Regions from separate parts of the Homo sapiens genome. Here region 2 is linked to region 1. Evidence: promoter capture Hi-C in 16 types of primary human blood cells and fetal thymus (Javierre and others, 2016). All regions are on one chromosome and are shown on one strand. Each heading gives the region's core, a stretch centred on a gene start or on the middle of the fragment in contact. The rest is flanking DNA. Distances are from core to core; before and after follow the strand shown. Region 1 holds the start of APCDD1 (APC down-regulated 1). Region 2 has its middle 230 kb from the start of LINC01254.

The links. Contacts are between HindIII fragments. The CHiCAGO score rates a contact against its expected background, and 5 or more counts as called.
Region 2: a contact is called between a fragment that was not itself captured here and the fragment with the promoter of APCDD1 in region 1, in 2 of 17 cell types (M1 macrophages and naive B cells). The highest score is 6.2, in M1 macrophages.

What each region holds. Positions count from the first base shown.
Region 1 is chr18:10,452,380-10,459,646 of GRCh38, reverse strand. APCDD1 (APC down-regulated 1) reads right to left here and starts at 5,012. Exons shown (of 5, transcript NM_153000.5): 1 at 4,608-5,012. The coding sequence starts at 4,665. The HindIII fragment of the contact is 7,093 bases long and covers 1,338-7,267 here.
Region 2 is chr18:10,182,463-10,190,179 of GRCh38, reverse strand. No RefSeq gene overlaps it. Among named protein-coding and RNA genes, the nearest start is that of LINC01254, 230 kb to the left of the region's middle. The HindIII fragment of the contact is 5,806 bases long and covers 1-4,346 here.

The sequences.
Region 1 (7,267 bases), core at 3,763-6,262:
GTGGTACTTCTGCTTATCAAGTTCTTGTTTTTATTACCATTTTTTTTGCAGTAAGCTTGCTGCTTTTGCCCATCTTAAAATCTTCATATCTAAAAGTCGTCTCTCTTTATGAGCAATATAATAAGGTCAAGTTTTCAAATTCCTGGCTCCACTTGACTTTAGTTGAAAACAAGTTACTTTTCTGTGCCACTTTATAGTGCCATAGTCCTCAGGGTGGACACTGGAGCTGAACCAGAGGTTGCAAAGTTTGCATGTTGGATCTGCAGCTGACTAGCCACATCCACCCTCTTCAACACAGTTGTGGTCTGTGTGTGTGTGTGTGTGTGTGTGCACGCTTGTGGGATTCCCAGCAGGGAAAATAGTGCAATCAACTGCAGTGTGCCATCCACTCAGCTCTGGGGCTCTACAATCAGTATTTCTTCCCTTCTCTCACCTAGATATTCTTCAAGAATCCTCAAGGAAGGGAGAATGCTACCTTTCGGCCAGTGGACCTGGCAAGTGGTGGCACTTGGCACATAGTAGGCCCTCATAGATGAACTTTCTGAATAAATGGTTAGCTGAATGAATGAAACCGGAAAACCCTTGCAGAACAGAATATCCTTAATAATTTTAGGATGATACCATATCCTTTCTCCAACCTTGAGATGTACATACCTATCACATGACTTTCCACAATAATTTTATTCCCAAACTGGAGAGGACTAAGCAATGGCCTATGTACACAAAACCAACCCATTAAGAACTCATACGTCCAGGATGGTAGCGGATTTTTTCCTGGTTTTCCCTGCGATCACTTCAACTCCAGGGGAAGAGTCTACTGAAGACATGCCTTGCTGTGTATCTTTCAACCGATGTAGACAATCACTAACACATCATCTTCTATTTCTGGTCTGAAATGTTTTATGCCTCCCTTTGATTGATTATATTGTCATCAGTCTGTCCCTAAATAGTAGTATGTAATTACACAGACATATCACCCACCTATATTTAGTTCTTTTCTCATTTAAGGGGAAAAAGAATGAACTCAGCTAGTATAAAAGAATGAAATTGGCTTGTCAATCTCTTTAACAGAGGATATTTAACATCTGTCTGAGACCCTTGCCCCTGTTGGGTACAGGTGAGTCATGCTTCTTTTCAAGACTTCATTTTCTTTTTATGACTAAGAGGAGGGAAAAAAGTGCAGGAAAGAATGTTTTCTTGGTCACAAAAACTGTCCTTAGTAAAATAGTTTTTCAAAGATTTCTATTTTACCCTGTATAAACGTTTCCTCACATTATGTCGGTTAAACTCTCATTTGGTAATCTGCAAAGTTTTTAAAAGTCTTGACAGAATAAGCTTTAATGAAAGGAGAGAGCTGAAAGAGCCTTCACCTCTCAGAAAAGTCAACGAATTCTACAAAAGTAAACAGGGTGTGGGAATAGAACATCTCTCCCAACATCAGCTCCAAAACTCAAAATCAAATGTTTCCATTAGCAAAGAGAATCAGGCACTCCACTGCGGCATTACAGTCACACTTATTCTGGATACCTCATGCTAATCTGTGTTTTGGAGCTGAATGGTTTCTAGAATTTGACATCTGAAACTTTTGTGGCTTTTATCTAAGCAAAGAAAACAGTGATAATGGACATCTTCCAGCTGCATACCTTCATGACATTAAATAGGCTTTATTTGGATTAAGTACTGCAATTGTTTTCAGAATTTGAAGAGGAGGAAAGTAAAACTGACATGTATACTTTTATGCCATCAAATTTTGAACTTGGGTCTCGCACCACATTTGCAGTCTTAAATAAACAACAGGCTCAAGTCTTGCCAGAGCCTCATTTACTCACTGATAGGATTTAGGGGTGATTTATAAGTTGCAATGAATTGAAATAGAAGTAGCCACAAAACCGAACAAAGACTGGATGCCAAACATAATGGTTATCTACTGCATCCTCACACAGGATGCACTTCTTGCACTTCTTAACCTGACTTGGTGGTGTAACAAATAAATCTCTAAATGATGTGTGAAACTAAATTTATTAAAGTTTATCACAGGAACATCCAACACCATAGAACAAATGCTTTTATCTACTAAGTTGACCCATAAATAGACAAATGGTATCCTATGGTTAGCAAAATAAAATGCCTATTTATCAGGAAAAAAAATCACTAATTCCTTAGAAGATTTCAAGAATTGCCTTCAGATTTATAACTTCTATTTAAATATATGATCACACTCCATCTGTTACTACAGAATTCTTAAATGCCTGCAAAGCGCCTATCAGTTGAGTACGACATATTCAGCAAACCATTCCCTTGGTTAGGTTGAGTAATACCCATTTGCTGTTAAAAGTACTTCAATCAAGTAGATGTCATGGGGGAAAGGGGAAAGGAAGAATATCCCATTCTTTTCTGGTGCTTTACATTATCCTTGCTAATTATGGCAAACCTTTCTTAAATCCTGAGGATTTATAACTTGAACAATGATTTCCTCTGTTTATTTTCTGCACTAGAGTCTGATACTCTCTGCTGGATCTAAGTAGACCTTTGAGCAACATTAGTTTTAATAATTGTGCCATTGCAGATTCTTTCTGAAATTGGATAACTTTTTATCGGTTTATCCATGTAACCCAACTCAACTTTGCAAACCTCCCTTTTTATCTTATCTTCATATATACATATGCACATATGTGTACACACAAATGCATACACACATACCAGCACGCACACGGTCTGTCTCCACTGTGCTCCCATTTATAGCTCAGACTGCCCTTCCCAGTTATTTCCTTGCTCCCCAATCCCCCTCCCAACACCATGGGGTCTGGGGAGCCCTCCTCCCTCAGATCCCCGGAGTTATGGAAGATTCCAGACTCAAATTCTCAAACTCAGGAGATTTGGAGCTCCTGTCTTCATTGAGGATATACTTGGGCTCTTGTTACCTGTCAGCCATTACTACCCCAGCTTGGACTGCTAAATAGGAAGTATAATTACAACCCCTACCTCTCAAAATAGGGAGAACATGTTCAGAGTTACCTTGTGTACAAGGTTGCATCTCTGAGGATCACTTTTGTAGTTTAAAAGGCAATGATTTTACCCCAAAAAATGCTGTTCATGCCAACTTTTTAAGTAATTTTTTAAATTTTAAAATCATTTGACCATACTATCTTTTTTCTTCACAGATATTACAACAATTTTTTTAAGGGGGACAATGTTTCCTGTTTCATCTCTCTCTTTTGTTTCTTGTGTGTGTGGCAGCTGCTGTTTGATCTGTTCATTGGCTCTGATTTGTTTCATGTTTCAGCCAAAGATTAAAACTGCTCTGTAATTCTAAGCAGATGGGCCTAGGAGTCCAACCCTATAATTATACCTTCTCTCTTTTTGCCCTCTGCAAGCCTTCCATCCCGACTGTTAAAATTCTGGGATCACTGGGGCTCTGAGTACACCTTGGCAACTGGACAGGTCTGGCCCAGCCAGACAAGTTCACAAAGCCTGTGGAGCTATGCGAGCCATCCACCTGGGGCAGGACTACAAAGAAAACAGCATCCCGGTGGCTTGTGGGTTAACAATTCTTCCCTTTCCTTGATCCTCCGGAGGGAAGGTCCTCAGCCTGACTTTCAGTCCTGGCTACCATGCATTCTGAAGCCGGAGCCCGCTACAGGTTTGGGGTGGCTGTGGTGGGTGTTGAGGAAGGAGAGCCGTGAAGTCATGCTGTTGAAACGTCAGGTGTCTGACCATTAGGGACAGTTTGCTCAGGACATCCACATCAACACGACGTGATCTGCCACGGCTTGTCAGGATTATGAACCCGACGCGCCATAAAACCTGCCTTGTCCACCCCAAAGAAATTCTGTCTTGGTGTTTTCAGCGCAATTTCTGGAACCCGCTGAAAGGGCTGATGTTCTCTAGCTAAAGGTTTACTAGAACCCCTGGGGAAAAGTGGCACTGGAAGCCCAGGAAATGGGACGTCAAGTTGGGGTGCACATTGGGAGACTGGTAATAATGATTAAATCTTGGCTAATAGGGGTCCCCTGTTTCTTAAAATTACACCCAGAGAACGCAACAGTCCACTTGGGAGAAAACCCCACAACCCCGCCTCAATCGCGAGGCAAAGTGCAGGCAGACAACAAACACTAGTTTTCAGAAGGCAGACAGACGTGTCTTTCCCAAATGATCAGTTTCTCTTTCCACTCTCCTAAACGCTTGGAACACATCAAGAGCCTGCTGCATTCTGGCATTTTGGAAAAAGGCTCGCAGAGCCGGCGATTTCATGGCAGTGTACAGTTGGAAAATCCAGCAGAGCGGACGAAAGTTTCCCTCGGACTGGATGCAACGGATTCTGGACATAAAAGGTGTCTGCGTGGGAGAGCTTCCACCCTTCCAAAAAGAACAGTCCCGCAGCAAAGAGCTCCGGGCGCCCTGGGGGAGAGCGGTCCCAAGCCTCGGAAAGTGGGCAGAGCCCCCTCTCCCAGGGCTGAGACGGCAGGCGCGGGGCTCCCCTCGGACCCGCCCCGCCAAGGGGACAGTGTAGGCCGTGCCGCGATCCAGACCCGACGCCTCCGCGGGCTCCGCGGCGCCCGGGCTGCCTCCGCCGGCTGGGAGCGCTCGAGTGGCCCTCGGGAACTCACCGTGAAGCAGGAGGGCCGGGAACAGGTATCTGAGCAGGAGGCGGCGCGGCCAGGACATTTCCAGTCCTGCTCTGGGGCCTCCCGCACGCCGCGCTCCGATTTGGTGCCCGGGCAACTGGGCGCGCGCTCTGCCCTCCGCCTCCGGCCGGGTGCGGCCGGGCCAGGCCGGGGCTTCAGGCGGCTGCCGCGCGCCCCATGCCCGGCGGGCTAGGCGCGGGGCTGCGGGGCGCGCGCTCTCTGGGCGCCGTCGGGCGGCTGTGGGCGCCCCGGCCCGGTCCGCGTCCCGGCCTCTCTGCCGCCCGCCCCGACTTCTCCGCGCCCGGCCCCGCGTCCCGCCCCGGCCGCCGCGTGCGCCGCTCTGAGCTGCAGTGGCCGCCACCGCCACCGCAGCTGCAGCGTCTCTTCATATTTCCAGCGCGCCGCCGGCCGGGCAGCCTGGCCGCGGCACGGAGGAGGGGCCCTGGAGGGGGCGGTCGGGGGAGGCGACGCCGAGCCACCGCCCCCGGGCAGCCGCCGCCGGGGGGGAGCGCGGAGACTTGAAAGGGCGCGTCGGGCAACGCCTCCCCTCCTCCCACTCCGGGCGCCCCTCCTCCCCCCGCTCCCCTCCCGCTTCCCTCCTTCCCCTCTCTCGCCTACCCCTCCTCTTCCAGCTTCCTACCCCTTCCATCCTCCCCTCCTCCTCTCCTCCCTCCAGGCCCCTCTGCCTCCCTCTGGCTCTGCGCACCCCTTTCTCTCCTCCCCGTCCCCCATTCCGGGCGCGCTTCCTCCTTGGAGGGGGTGGGAGCCTTTGGCCCCGCACCCCGCCCGCAAGGAAAGAGAATGCGCGGGTCACCCTTCCGCCTCCGCCCACTCCCCTGGGGAAAGGTGTTCAAAGGGGGTGCGGGCGGCGAGGCTGGAGGCCTGGCGTGGGATCCAAGCAAAGCGGCCTGCTGAGCCGGGGTGTGTGCCAGCGCGCAGCCATGGGAGAGAGGGGAGACCAAAGAGAGAGTCCTGGAGGGTTGCTGGGGGTGAGGATGCGTCAGTGCTGGGCCCCCTCGTGGGTGCGGTGCAGGTCTTCACTACAAATCGCCTACCCCGGCCCAGTGCCTGGCTCCTCTGGGGAGCACGGAGAACCTTGTCATAGGCCCCAACCTGGGAAGGGCACGGTGTAGGAGGCAGGAGCCCGTTCACTTTTTCCTCCCCCTTCCACTAGGCAAATGACTTGTTGAAACGGGAGAAATCTCCGAGAAACGCTCCCTGTCAGTCTAAGAACGTGCACTTAGGCCCCTTCGCCGAGTCCTCTTCTCTTCCAGAGCAAATTGAATCACCACAATCAAAGCTGATTTTATTTGTGTTCGCGGTCTTGTGGGGGAGGGGGGACTACATGGGCGTTTGAGACCCAAAGGCAGGAAGAGTTTCCCCTGGGGTCCTTCGTTCTCCAATGCGGGTACAAGGCAGTGGCCATCTGATTTACCTGGAAGGTCCCTCCTCTGCCAAGGGCCTGCTTGAGCCCTTCCCCTCTTCCAGCAGTTTTCCCCCTCCTAAGGTTAATGTCACCTCTTCTCCACACTAGGATAAAGAGCAGACAGGAGACCCAGTGGAGTCTAGAGAACATTTCTTGACGCAACCGTTAGTGTTTTTCATTTAAAAAAAAGATTAAAATAAATGCCTGATTTCCCAAGAGAATTCTCTGCCCCTTTGAACAATGCAATAATTCAACTCCTTATGTGTTAGACTTTCAAAAGTAGTTGGATCTTAGCAACGGTATAATAGTAAAATAGATGAGAATACATTTGACAGTTTCCACTTTTCTTTTTTTTTTTTTAACCTGAGAAATCCATGGGTGTTTTGATGTGATAGTGCTGACGCTGTTTGATGTGTCTTAATTTTTATCACCATCATTATCATCTTTCCATCATTAATACAGAGGATCATAAGATGTACCAGCTGCTCAGCTCACACGGATGTTGTGAAGATTAATGTGCTCCTGTTTGCAAATCTTGAAGATGAAAGAATACCTGTGTGGGCAAAAAGAAGATCATGAAAACGATGCCTATGAGCGCAGGCATTATTTTGTGTTAGTCTTGCTCTGCCACATCTTTCTGAGCCTGACTTTGTACCTGATCGTTCTCTCATCCCAGTTGCTAGGCTTGGGTAGCAGACTATGATTTGTAAGATTTGAATGTTTGCCAAGGGCCAATCAAATTTTCATTTTAAACCAAGAATTTGACTTCTTCACGAATGTTGGGCAGTTGGAAACGATGTAAACAGCATACTTGGTTGGTTATGCAGAACAAAAGCCTTGTCACCAAGAACACATATGAAGTGGTGTTTAGTTTTTCAATGTCTTTTAGTCATTTGATGCCTTTTAGTCCATCAAAGAATATTTGAAACAAGCAAATGGCTAAGAGAGTGTTAGGGGTGGTGCATTTTTGTATAAGCAAATAGGTTGACAGCAATGGAAAAATGTTTAGGTTATTCATCACATATTAGAAGAACAGTTAGGTCATGTATGTGCTTAATTTTTTGATTTTGTTATTAAAAAAAGGATAAAACCAACAGGTCAGCTGTAATTTGGTGTCATTTTGACAGTCAAGTTGCTTCAATTTTTGTTTTTCCAACTGGTTTTACTGGTGTGGTATAAACGTAGCCAGAATGAAGTCAGCAGTTTCAAATTTGTT
Region 2 (7,717 bases), core at 194-2,693, 270 kb after region 1:
CATTCTCAGCTGCCCCCGTCCCCAGTGTCCACCTGGCCTGTAGTGATGTCATCCACAGGACACAACTCTGCCCATGTTCCCTCTCTTGTACTTCTACCAGCCCTGAGCCCATCTGAGGCTGTGTTCTCTGTCCAGGCCCCAGAGGCCTTGCTTCATTGTCAGTCTCGGCACCTAAGGAAAAGCCTCTTGCCAGTCTCTTCCTGCTCCCCATCAGCCCCTCACTGCTGAAGCCCATCAGGCCTCCAAGCCCACTGGAGGCTGCACAGACAGCCCCCCATTCAGAGCTCTGCTCCAGTGTCCCCTCTTCAGAGAGGACCCCGGAGCAGCCCAGCTAGCATTCCTCCCCAACTTCCTCTCCGGCCCCTCTGCTCAGCCACAAAGCCACTCTAATTATAGGACCTTCTTACGGCACTAATCACTGCATGGAATTATTTGATTTAGGTTTTCTCTTGGTTTGCTAGCATCTGGAACTCCAGTGTGACAGCAGGCCTGGCTTACACATCAGTGTCAAGAAGTGCACGTGTGAATAAGTCCACAGCACTAGCCCTCTGGACGCTGGCACAGCCTGGGCCCCGGTCACAGTCTCATTTGGTAGAGAAACTCACAGTCAGCCTGTTGGGAGCCTGCTTGTGAGACTCACTTAGTATGATTCCAATAAGGATGGATAGAAATGGACCTCTGTGCCATTGAGACTCTTGTCATCAGGCCTATTTGATTTGAGTCTCGTCGTCTCGGGATTGTTTTTTCTTTCCTACAGCCAGCTCCTGGTAACGTGATGAAGGCAGACCCTGACACAGGACAAATCAGGCATCGGAAACTTTTCTGGCCACTGGAATTCCCCTTCTTTCTTCCCCTCCTCCTACCTTCCTCTAATCATCTCTCCTTCTCCCTTTGGACAATGAAACTTGTACATCCAGACTTGTTTAATTTGCACCAAGTAAATACACAGGTTCTATTAGCCAAATTGAGCATTTGTCAAACATCCAGAATCTCTTTCCCAATGAGATGTCCCTGGGCCAGAATGAGCTGGGCTTTAAGGCTGGCCAAATGGGGCCATTAACTCTGGTGTTGTCGTGGCAACCTACCCCTCTCCTAGAGGAAGATAGAGGGACAGAGGATGGGGAGAGGGGAAAGAAGGGAGGGTGGGCATCTGGGTGATGACTTATTGGGGCAAAATTCCCATTTTCTCCCAATGATTGTGGAGTCCATACTTAATCATTGCCCTAGGAACTTTGCCCAGTATCAAAGCCAAGCTCTTTACCTTGGTGGATTTAAATGTTTAAAGTGCATTTCCTTGTAGCTGGGGTTCAGAGAGAACATCAGAGTCCAAGGCTTTATTGCCCCCTACCTTAAGTTTTCATTTTTTGCTGTGGTCTTATTTGGTTTGGGGATCAGGGTTATACCGGCTTTGTAGAATGAGTCTGGAAGAATTCTAACTCTTTCAATTTTTTGGAAGAGTTTGAGAAGAATTGGTATTAGTTCTTTAAACATTTGGTGGAATTCAGCAGTGAAGCTGTTTGGTCCTGGGATTTTCTTTGTTGAGAGACTTTTTGTTATTGATTCAACTTTGTTACTGGTTATTGGTCTGCTGAGGTTTTCTATTTATTCTTAGTTCAGTCTTGGTAGGTTGTATGTATCCAAGGATTTATCCATTTTTTTTTTTTTTTATGAGACAGAGTCTCACTCTGTCGCCGAGGCTAGGCTGGGGTGCAGTGGCGTGATCTCAGCTCACTGCAAGCTCCACCTCCCGGGTTCACGCCATTCTTCTGCCTCAGCCTCCTGAGTAGCTGGGACTACAGGCACCTGCCACCACGCCCGGCTAATTTTTTTGTATGTTTTTAGTAGAGATGGGGTTTCACCGTGTTAGCCAGGACGGTCTTGATCTCCTGACCTCGTGATCTGCCTGCCTCGGCCTCCCAAAGTGCTGGGATTACAGGCATGAGCCACTGTGCCTGGCTGAATTTATCCATTTCTAATAGGTTTTCAAATTTACTGGAGTATAGTTGTTTATAATAGTGTCTAATGATCCTTTGTATTCCCATGGTATCAGTCATGACATCTCCTTTTTCATTTCTGATTTTATTTATTTGAATCTGAGAAGAAGTTATTTCTAATATCTTTAACTATCAGTTGAGGGCTCTGGAGATCCACCAAACATGGTCATGAGAGAGGGTTATTGGGAGATACTGGTCACCAAAACTTGGCGTCACCCCTCGCACACACACACACACACCCCACACACAATCCACTGATGACAGCTAAGAGTCCCCAAGCGTAATCTTAGCCCCACTCTGTCCTCACTTGGACAAAGTACTGGTGCTAACATAGTGGAAATGCTTTTTCTCAGGTGTGAAAACACAAGCAGCTACTGTGTGGATTCACTTGATCAGGTATTGCCTTCTGGTAGGAGTCCAAGAGCTTTGATGCGAGAGCCAGCCTGTTCACACCCTGACTTCGTCACCAGCCAGCTCGGCCACACTGGGTCAACTGCTGAGCTCTCTAGGCCACAGGGGTGGTGATCGTGCCCACCTGATAGTTAATGCACACTAGCCACAGGCTTCCATCAGGAAAGAGTTTAGAACAATGCCCAGGCCACAGTAAACACTGTCTAAGAGCCAGACATTATTCTTAAAAGGCCAGCATGTATGAGAAAAATCTTATACAGTATTATATCACAGGTTTCTTGATGTCCTATTTTTGAATCTTTTTGATGCCTCTTTATTGAACACTAAGTGCTCTAAGAATAAATCATAAACAAGCCAGACTGTGTCCTCAGAAACTCACATTCTAGAAGGGGGGAGAATAAGTAAGCAGTGACGTAAATTCTGCAACAAGGGCGAGCTTGGGGCACTTCATTCCACATAGGCAATGTCCCTAATTCAGCCTTAGAGGGCCAGAGACAGCTTCCCTACAGGAGCTGAGTCCTACAGGTACATCCACAGTTTCTACACCTTTTCTCACCTATCAAATGCAGCAGCTTTTGTGTGCAATGGGATTATAGTTACAGGTAAAAGGGAAGCTCATAGATTTTCCATGTTTAGGACAGCATGCTTCTGACATTTAATGCTCTAATAACTTGAAGGCCAGACTGCTATTAATGTAGAGTCTCAGAGACTGTTGGGTTGTAGTAGAAAGAAATTGGAATGTAAGTCAAGAGACTTGGCCTTCAGTGTTTGCTGTCTACTGTTAAATTTGGTTAGCCTAAAGCTGCCTCCTTATATATTTTAAATTCAGCCTAACATTTCTCCATATATAGTGAACTGTAACCTAACTGCATGTGTAAACAGGTGTAACGTGCTCTTGTAACAAGGAGCCAAGTCTCAGCCAATGATAGAAGCCAGACTTCAATCATTCACAGGTCGCCAACTATTTAAACCACATTCAAATAAGGCAAACACCAAGCTGTAACCAATCTAGCTGTTTCCATACCCTACTTCCATTTTCTGCACATTACTTTCCTCTTTCGGTCCATAAATCCTTTCCAACCACACAGCACTGCCAGAGTCTCCCAAACCTATTCTAATTAGTTGGGTGGGGCTGGAAGAGGGGGTAACAAGGGGTGTGCTGCCTGACTTGTGAATCATTCATTATTCAATTAAACTCTGTTAAATTTAATTTGTCTAACAAATGGTGTCAGAAGTGAGACTTGAAAGTTAACTTCCAGTGACCCCCAGGAGCATTGAGCGACCAAGTGAGGTACTCAGCAGACCCACTGTGCTCACTGCCTTCTCACAGAAGCTAGGAATCATGGGTAAGTTCTCTCTCAGGTTCTGAGGTTCCATGGATTTGTGTTTTCAGCTCTTTGAGTTTGAACAAATTTTTTATTCAAACTGGGCTGAAAAGTCCCAATAAAAACTGGACTGAGTCCAGGATGGGATAGATCTGATAATTAACTGGCTTAGATCCATGTAGAAGCCTCAGATGTCCAACTGGGCCAGACAGAAACTGGCAGTGAATAATAAAATTGGGGTGGGGGGGCTTTCACGGGGGTGTTTGTGTTCTATTTCCCACCCCTATTTTTTTCTTGCATGGTGAGGTAGAGAAAAATCACTGGCTAAGTTAATAAAGGTGATCTGAGAGCCAAAGCCAAAATTCAATGTAAAATGAGATCTTTAAATTCTAAAAAACAAAACACCCCCCTTCCATCTACAACTACCCACACATATATAAGCATTAGACCCCCCAAAACCAGAAACACTTACAAAAAAGACAAAATCTTACTAAAAATAATGTAAAATTAGAATGCAATATTCCAAATAAACAATACTACACATTAAAAAATACATTTAAAAATAAGGGTTCTTAAATTAGACTGATCCAAAAATGTTTACTAATGTGTAGAAGCTTCTAAAATTTTTTCAATATTTTTATTGCCTCTTTCAAAAGACTATAAAAAACAAATTAAAATCTTAATTGACTAATTAATTTAGAAACTTAAATCTGCTAGCCTTTTGGCTTAATTACTATCCTTCTATAAAGGCTTTTTAAAAGGCTATTCTAGATAAAATATTTATAAAAGATAGACCCTCAGGTAGAACAGGCATACTTATTTTTCGGAGCTGTCCATACTGAGTCCAGACGTAGAAAATATTTTCTTTGCCCTATTCTTTAATGAGCTCCACCTTAAGCTCAATAATTTTAGCTAAAAAATAATAACTAAGTTAAAAAGACCACCTATTAAACTAAATCTGCCTCCAAAATACAGCTTACAACATTAAGGTGGCCATTTTCAAACCCTTTTTTAAAAAAATTCACATCTATAAAAAAATTCAGTTATAAAGATATCTGCCTCTCTGCATCAAAAAGAGAGGAAGAAATGAGTAACTAAAACCTCTTACTGTTAGTTTAAGTTTACATAACTAGTCTTACTTTTACTTGAGGTATTTTTCCTTGACATATTGTCTTACCTGGGCCTTTACCTATACTCTCATTCCTTAATTTGAACAAATTATAATACAATATTTGAGCCTAACATCTCAGCTCTGTACTTTTGAGATAAACATTTTCTGTCTTTGTATTTGGCTGTTCTTACATTCTTATAAAGGAATATCTGAGGCTTTCATTCCTATAAAGGCATAATTTATAAAGAAAGAAAGTTGAATTGGTTCACACTTCTGCAGAATGTACAAGCATGGCACCACTATCTGCTCAGCTTCTGGTGAGGGCTTCAGGAAGCTGACAGTCATGGAGGAAGGTGAAGGGGGATGCCAGCATATCACATAGTGAGAGAGAGAGAGAGAGCAAGAGAGAAGGGGAAGTCCCAGATTTTTTTTTTTTGAACAACCAAATCTCATGTGAACTAACTAAGCAAGAACTCACTTATCACCAACGGGATGGTGCCAAACCATTCATAAGGGTTCGACCCCCAGGATCCAATCACCTCCCACCAAGCCCCACCTCCGACATTAAAAATCACCACACTTCAACATGAGATTTAGAGGGAACAAACATCTAAACCACATCAACTTTGTTTCACTTAAGAGTCATTCCTTTAAAAATACAAATTTAGGGTTGCTTGCTAACAAATACTCAAGATGATAAAATGTATAAGGATGTATAGTCTAAACAGAAAAAAAAACTATTGGCCAGTGTGGTGGCTCATGGCTGTAATCCCAGCACTTTGGGAGGCCAAGAAGGGCGGATCATGAAGTCAGGCGTTCAAGACCAGCCTGGACAACATGGTGAAACCCCACCTCTACTAAAAATACAAAAATTAGCCAGGTGTGGTGGTGGGCGCCTGTAATCACAGCTACTTAGGAGGCTGAGGCAGGAGAATCACTTGAACCCAGGAGACAGAGGTTACAGTGAGCCAAAATCACATCACTGCACTCCAGCCTGGGTGACGGAGCAAGACTCTGTCTCAAAAAAAAAAAAAAAAAAGAAGAAAAGAAAAAGAAAAAAAGGAAAAAAAACTATTTAAAAGACAACAAATAAAAATTCTCTATAAAAGCTATAAGATCTGATTCTGCCTAAGTATTTATCTTATGGGTGTGTGTGTGTGTGTGTGTGTGTGTATGACAGTTATATCACATTTATATATACTTGGTAAATAAAGCTAATTTAAAATTTTAAGTAAGTTTAAAATTCTAATAAAATAAAAACGGCTTCAAATTTGTCAGTTAAATATAATAAAAATATTTTTGCCTGGTTCTATGGGTTAAACAGATTTATACTGTCCCCTCTACATATTTTAAGGCAATAAAATTGCTGCTTCTATAATATTGTTAATGCTTAATTTGTTCACTAAAGAAAAAGACTGGCTGCTAGACTCCCCAAAGCCTTACACACATCTTACTGTGAGCTTGTCTTTAGTTTGAGGTTATAAATTCTAGGCTCTAGACAGGTGGCCATAATGAGGCCTGGAGACATGTCCTTGGCACCTTGACCACCAGCTGCAAAACAAAGTCAAACCCAATATGGCCCCTTTCTCCCTGGCCCAACTTTGCCTCCTGGCCATACTGAGAGAGTCAAACCTTCTAGACATCCTCTTCACAGGTTTGTCCTCTCTCAAGTTCTATACCTGATATATAAATTCAGGACCCAGAAGGGCTCTGTCATTCATAGCCATCCTGGGTGCCACATGGGTACTCAGGACCTGGGATAACTGGGGAAGACATTAGGGAGGGTACCTGTGTCACAGTTTCAAAATTCTGTCTGGTAATTTAAAATATTTAAGTCATATTATGTTAAATTAAGTAATAAATAATCATAAAATATCTGAGTCATTTCTAAGTTAAAATACTGAAACATTAATTATTAACATAAGTTTAAGTTTATATACTTTAGCATCTTATTTTTACATAGTATAGAAAAGCCAAATACATATAGATCTATTAATAAACAAAAAAATTAAGAAAACACATCCTTCTAAAAAATTAGGAAATGGTTTTTAATATATAAATACTAACATAAAACAGTTCAAAATTACTTACTTCCTAGGTTTTCATTAGAAATTAGAGAGTTACTATCACTTCTTGGCCTTTTGGCTAACATCAAGTGTAGAAATTAGAGTTACTAAGAGTTAAAATTATAGTTGATATGAATAATTAAAACTACTAGATATAAAAAACTGTATACAGAGTGTATTTAAAAGGCACTATGTGTTATTGGCAAAAAAATTATAAAGGCATAAAAATGAGTGTTGAAAATGTAATTTTGTCTAATTTAGAAGTTATTTAATAGTTCTTTCAAGTAGGAAAATTTAAAAAAGATCATGGCTGACTGGAGGCAGGACTAGATTGCAGCTCCGGACAGAGGAGCGTGCAGAGACTCACATTGTGAATTTTTACTCCAGATCGACTGCAAGAACAAATCAGCAATCCCGAGAGGACCCACAGGACCTCTGAAGGAAGCAAACTGCTCCTGCAGGACCCAGGAGACACCCCAAATACTGTGAGTGCCTGAACTGCACAAGTGGGAAAGGGAGACCCTCCTCTCCTGAACACACGCCCCCCACTAGAGAAGCTGAAGGTCTGTTTGTGGGAGAAGTTTCCGACTTCACCTGGAGCTGAGTCAATTTAGAGAGCCAAGCAAAATACAGGGGTAGGAAGAAGCAGCAGAAAGGCCCTGAGAGTTCGCTGGGTCCCCAACAGCCCATTCCTGCCTGGCACCACAGGGATCCATCCGGAGGGTGGGCAGAGGAGCAGGGCAAAACACCACAGGAAGAAGGAAATCTCTAGCTGAACTTTGTAACAATTTGAACAAGGCGAGTAGCCTC